2 separate regions of the Homo sapiens genome follow, and region 2 is linked to region 1. Evidence: promoter capture Hi-C in human tissues and cell types (Jung and others, 2019). All regions are on one chromosome and are shown on one strand. The core of a region is centred on a gene start or on the middle of the fragment in contact, and the rest is flanking DNA. Distances in the headings are between cores, read along the strand shown.

Region 1 (3,065 bases), core at 245-2,744:
CATAGAGAAGGAGCTTGGAAGGAGTGAAGGTGTGGGGAAGATAGTGACCAGGGAGTTGCGGTTGGCAAAATGTCACCAGCTGCCTTTGTCACACACTGGCCAACACCCTGCAAGGCCAAAGGAAGAGTCAGAAACAGGTAGGCCAGAGACAAAGGCACTGCTCTAGGAACTTCAGACCTGGAGCAAGATAGACAAGGCCAGCAGACACAGGGTGTGGAACATCAGACACACAGATGAGGTGGTCCAGTGAGGTGGGACCGCCGCAGGGCCAGTCAGGGCCGGCGTTGGTAGACACCTAGGACACAGGACACGACAGCCACTATGCATTATTCATCTCCGTGTCCCTTGCAAGCCCTGCATACCTCAGTTAACATTTGTTGAAGTGCCAAGAAAGGACACACAGACACAGGGAGAGAAGGTCAGTTACAGAAATGGAGGGAGTCACAACTCCTTGTCATAGCCCAGGGGTTAAGCTTGTGGGGTTTGGAGTTAGTCAGACCCTGGTTCAAATCCAGCTGGGTTCAGCCACTTGCTAACTGGAGAACCTGGACCTCAGTGCCCCCATCTCTAAAATGGAAATAACAGCACTATTTTACCGCAGCAGTTCAGCCATCTCCGGGGGCGGTAACAAGGCCCCCAAGCAGCGCACATTCCCATCTGTGGGATAGGCTAGGCAGGGGCTGGAGAACACATGTGACCTGAAGAGGAGGTAGGTGAAAGTGCTGAGCCCAGCCCCCGGCCGCGGCAGGAGGTCAGCACCGTTCAATCTGAATCCTGCTTCCTGACACAACGCAAATGCTCAGCAGAATTCGGAAAAGGGTGTGTGTGTTCTATCTGCGGATTATCCAGGACTTTTGAGCCCTCGCCGCCCTTGGACATATAGGAAAGCTGGGAGTTGCAAGGGCGAAACCGAGGTCGGAGTTTGAGAGGAGGGGTCACTGAGTGAGGAAGCAGCGCTGGCTGGGTCTCCCCCGCTCCCCCGCCCCAGCAGCCCTCCCGCCATATATACTTGAGCTTTACTCAATAAGAAACCTTTTCAGAAAAGGATAACGTCCCCAGATTGAGAGAGCCGGTCCTCTCCTCTGCCCTCTCCCCCTCCCATTTAATTGGGACGCCCCAGAAAGTCGCAGCCCCTTTGGCTAATCCCCTGGTTCCCTATTCCACTCCCATTCCACTCTCAGACCCCGCCCCTTCACTCCCACCCGCAACCTCCGCTCGATCCAGAGCCCCCCGGTGGAGACAAGGAACACAGGGACCATTCTTAACCCTTGGGGAGGATCTTCGCCCGTTGGTAAACGAGGACGCGCTCCAGCCAGACGAGCCCCAGGCGCGGGGTCCCCGGGGCTCCTGGCCGCGCCGTCGGAGCAGCCGGCGCGGCCCCGCCCTCCCCGCGCGCGGAGCGGCCGGGGCGGGGACTACAAGTCCCGGCGTGCCGCGCGCGCGCTCCCCCCTGGGGTTCCGGATGGTGAGCGGCGAAGGTAAGGCGAGCTCGCAGAGGCAGCGGCGGCGGCGGCGGAGACGGAGAGAGGCAGGCAGGCAGGGCGAGGGCGAGAGACGGAGGGAGGGAGCGAGCGAGGCGGACCAGACAGACAGACAGGCGGGCGGGCGGGCAGAGCGAGCCACCCGCCAGGCTGCGCTCAGCCCCGCTCGCAGCGGAGAGAGCAGAAGGCAGGAGGAGGGAGGGGAGGAGGGGGAGGGAGGGAGAGAGGGAATCCAGCTACCACCACCCAAAGCCAGCGTCTGCTTTCTGTCCTCATTTCCTTTTCCCACCCAGCTTGGAGAGCAGAGAAAGGCAGAGAGAGCGAGAAATAGAGACAGTCTGAGAGACAGACAGACAGCCAGAGAGAGCGGGAGGGAGGAGGGCGGAGGAGGAGGAGCAGGAGGACTACGCGGGGCGCGTTCCCTCCCAGGTTTGCTATTGGGGGGGGTGGGGGCGGGGGTGTCCAGGGCTGGGAGAGTGTGTGCGCGGCGGGAGGGCGAGGGGGGCGCAGAGAGAGCGAAGGAGTGATCGAGGTGGGGGGGCGCCGCGGGAGCGGGGGGCCGTGTCCAGCGGAGTTAGCGGCGGAGAATGTGAGCCGAGGCGCGAGCCATGCTGTCAGCGACGGCGGGCGGCTCAGGGCTCCTCCACGACTCCTCTCCTCAGCAGCCGGGCGCCCGCGTCGCTGCCACCGCCGGAAGACAGACGTCCCCCAAAACCCCTCGCCTGGCTCGGACCCACGGAGCCGGCAGCCCAGCACTCCGGTGAGTGGCGCCTCCTCCCCAGCCCCAGACCCCCGCTGGGGACCGGCCGGCCAGGCTCTTTTGTGCAGCGCACGGGGGGGGCCTGCGTCCCCCGGTCCGGTCCGCTGGACCCGGTGGCTGCGGTGCCCGCGGTGCGATCGGTCTTTGTTTCCACCGGGGCCCGCGGCTCGGCTGGGCTCGGCTCGAAGCCTGGCAGGCAGCGCCGGGAAGGGGGAGGGGGAGGTGGACGGGGAGGGGGGGCGGGGAGGGGGGGTTCTCGGGTTTCCTGGCCGCCCCGCGGCTCCCCCGGCTCGGGGGCGAGGTGCGCGCCCAGCGCTGCCGCGCGCCCCCTCCTCCTTCCCCCTCCCTCCGCCTTTGGATTTAAAACTGCAATTTGCTCTCCAGCTTGCTGAGAATGTGGGGGGGGGGGGAATGAAGGGGGGACCGTGGGAGCGGAGAACAAGGCTGGATTTTAGGATCGGCGCTGGGAAAAGGGGAGACTGCGGAGGGAGGAGCCCCTCCCCTCCAACCCCCAAATCCCTAGGATCCACTGGCTCTCGGGGAGTTGAGGGGCGGGGACCTAATGACCCGGAGGGGGTGTGGGGCGGAGGAGGGATTTGGGGGCGGCTAGGGCTGGAGGGGTTGGGCCGCGTGCCCGGTTACCTGGCGAACAAAGTCGGCTCACTTTTGCATAAATAAATAAATAATCGCCTATCAATGCGTTTCCTCTGGGGCTCTGATTGAATCGGCCCCCTCTTCCCCAGGGGGTGGGGTGCTGAGTGACAGCTGTCAGCCCCCTAGGCAGGGAGCTGGGGTGAATTGCTGAATCTCTGCTCGCTGCTTGA
Region 2 (3,065 bases), core at 229-2,728, 160 kb before region 1:
ATCTGTAGTCCCAGCTACTTGGGAGGCTGAGGTGGGAGAATCCCCAGGAAGTCGGGGCTGCAGTGATCTACTTGCCACTGTACTCCAGCCTGGATGACTGAGTGAGACTCTGTCTCAAAACAGTCATAGAAGAGAGAAAGAAAGAGTTTATTCTCTAATGGACAGGAAATTCCCAATTAGCAGTTAGGCTTTTAATTTTTTAAGTCTATAAGCAAGACAAACTTTTCTAGGCTGAAGGGCTGAAGGGGATAACGGGGTATGTCTACTGGTAAACAGCAAGAAATAAAAACAAAATCCAACAATTACACTTGAGTCAATATGAATTTTTATTAACACACATTTGTCAAAGTCTGTACAAACCAAAACATTCCTGTGTTTTAAAATGTCCATTATTACAAACATACAAAGAAACAAAAGGTGTTACCAAAAGTTAGCTACTCAATTTCATGGTAAAACAGTGTCATGATTTTTAAAAATCAAAATTTCAAGACTGAGGTTTCTTCTTTCCCTTTTTGGAACTTATGGAAAGTTAGAAAACGTGTGAATTTGCTTTATATTAAATGCCAAGACCTTAAAAAAAGATTTAGTATAAAACTAAGTATGTTTTTATATTGTCATACATCATGTAACAGAATTTCAGTCCTTAAAATTAAAAAAAAACACCATGACTGTCATTTCCCCCTAATTTTTCTCCCATAGTCAATGCAAATGCATCTGAAAAATATTATGACAGTTTATCTTTACCTAAAAGCTTCTCATTCAAAAACTTTACAAAACTATTTAGCACTGCCATTTCCCTTGCTTAGAAGGGAAAATTATATCCCCTAGTAGGGTGATATATAAGCGACATGGTCCACTGTATCCCTTATCAGAAGGAAACCACCATTTCCACATCTCTGTCCAATTATGTGTAGGACTCCATTTATGAGAATGCTATCACAAATTATAGAGCATCTGCTTCCAGGAAACGCCTAGAAGTTAAATTTAGTACTATAATTTTTTGGTAGACTGAGGTACAAATGTTATCTGCCCTCATTATTATTTCTAACTCTAGTACCCCCTGCATAAATGATTCTAGGGTAGTTGGTTTTGTTGTTTCATGGCACACATGACACACCCTAATTCCTTTCACAAACATCACATAGAGGACCTGAGAGTATGCCTAGAAATGTAAATCTATCCCCTTTCCTGGAAAAGTAAATCCATATTCCTACAGGGTTAAGAAGGGAAGATAGGCAGGGCATACATAACTCTGGTTGAGGCAAAGTGCTTCTGAGAAGCACCTGTTTTCAATACATATCCATGAAAAGCAGGGAGTGTATGGGCTCGGGTGGGTGAGGAGTGGGGAGAAGGTATAGTGATACCACTTTTCCCAGACTCAAGAGTCCTTACTAGAGCAGCTCATGCTGACCCCAAAAATGCTCTGTAGTTCAAATATTATTCCTTTTTTTTTTTTTTTTGAGACGGAGTCTCACTCCATTGCCCAGGCTGCAGTGCAGTGTTGCGATTTCAGCTCATTGCAACCTCTGCCTCCCGGGATTCGAGCAGTTCTCCTGCCTCAGCCTCCTGGGTAGCTGGGATTACAGGTGCATGCCACCAGGCCCGGCTAATTTTTGTATTTTTTTAGTACAGATGGGGTTTTACCATGTTGGCCAGGATGGTCTCAAACTCCTAACCTCAAATGATCCACCCGCCTTGGCCTCCCAAATTGCTGGTATTACAGGCGTGAGCCACCGCACCCGACCATATTATTCCATTTTTAATCTGTTCATTCATGTAAAAAAACATTCTCTGACAGCAGCCCAGTATGACAACTGATATAAGCAAATAAAGGATTTTATTTTTTAAAGAAGTGGCAGTGTGAGAATTTAAAATCAATCACATAAAACAATCAGGAAAGGGGTGGGGAGAGAAGTGTCCAGTACAACCTGGACAACCTTGCTTTCTGCCCTTACTTAAAAAGACAGACGGTTCAAATCTTTGCTACCTCCCTTAAGTATCTCCATAAATGCTCTTCCAAGAAATCCTCCAAAAGGCACTTAGCTCCATACTTATGCATTGAATTGTTTCACCTTAGCAATCAGTTTTTAAGACTCCAAGGTAACAAGAAAGAAAAGATCTGATTCTTTTACTAAAAGCTAGTGAATAGGACTGTTTTTTTTTCAAGAGGCATCACTTTTACAAGAACTAGCTAGACCACCATTATTCCTTTATCAAGAAAAAGTTTCTTTTTTAAAAAATAAATAAAACTCTGGCTATACATAGTACAAAGTTCATACATAATACATCTGGAAAAAAACCGAAGAGTATACCCTGAAGCAAAAGGTTTATTGGAGAGAGAAAGCCTCTTCCATTATACCAAGTCTGAAGATGGCAGTTTTCAAAGTTCAGAGGGTGGCAGTGATATATAATTAATGCCAAACTGTTTGCTCATGGGTATGGCAGGATGCAATGAAGGACCAAAAAAAAAAAAAAAAACAAAAAACAAATCATTCTGCACATTACACTGAGCAGTGACCACCACAAAAAAAAAAAAAAAAAAAAAAAGAAAAAAGAAAAAAAAAGAATAGAACCAAAATAGAGAGAAGAGGAAGAAGAAAAAGAAAAGTCCTAATAGTGAGAGAAAGAGAGCGAGCTTGAAATCCCAAACACTCAAGCATGCAGTCTAACACAGCACAAACCAGGTGTTTCCATTCAGCCCACTGCAATCGCACAAAGAAGGATAACTGTAATAAAATAGAGATTTCTTAAGAAAGCTTGCAATTCCCACAGAACAGCCAGGTCTCCAACCCTAACCCTGGACAACTCCATTTGCTGTTGCTAGGGAGCCTCCTTGAGGTCTGTCATGGAGAGGTTATAGCTCCTGACTTCTCTGACTTCTTGCTCTTGGACAAAGCAGCTGCCTGCTTCAGGAGCTCTCGGTTTTTGGCCTAAAGAAAAAAAAAATCAGTGCAAGAAGGATGTTTCAAACAGGATATAAGCTATTTTTCATGCAGAGTAAGTGCAGATGCTAAGGCAGACAATGTGGAGGGTCAGAAAGAGATGAACAATTCTAGAGGTGGAAA

Evidence for each region. The method cuts DNA at HindIII sites, captures the fragments that hold promoters and counts their contacts. A contact is called where the count stands out against the background at its distance.
Region 2: a contact is called between a fragment that was not itself captured here and the fragment with the promoter of AHDC1 in region 1, in 4 of the 25 tissues and cell types used here (IMR-90 fibroblasts, dorsolateral prefrontal cortex, lymphoblastoid cells and 1 more).

The regions. Positions count from the first base shown.
Region 1 is chr1:27,602,573-27,605,637 of GRCh38, reverse strand. AHDC1 (AT-hook DNA binding motif containing 1) reads left to right here and starts at 1,494. Exons shown (of 9, transcript NM_001371928.1): 1 at 1,494-1,532; 2 at 1,775-1,910; 3 at 2,144-2,241. RefSeq lists silencers at 1,150-1,689, 2,240-2,319 and an enhancer at 2,803-2,852. The HindIII fragment of the contact is 10,400 bases long and covers 1-3,065 here.
Region 2 is chr1:27,760,360-27,763,424 of GRCh38, reverse strand. FAM76A (family with sequence similarity 76 member A) reads right to left here. Exons shown (of 9, transcript NM_152660.3): 9 at 309-2,930. The coding sequence ends at 2,844. Among named protein-coding and RNA genes, the nearest start is that of STX12, 11 kb to the left of the region's middle. The HindIII fragment of the contact is 6,157 bases long and covers 1-3,065 here.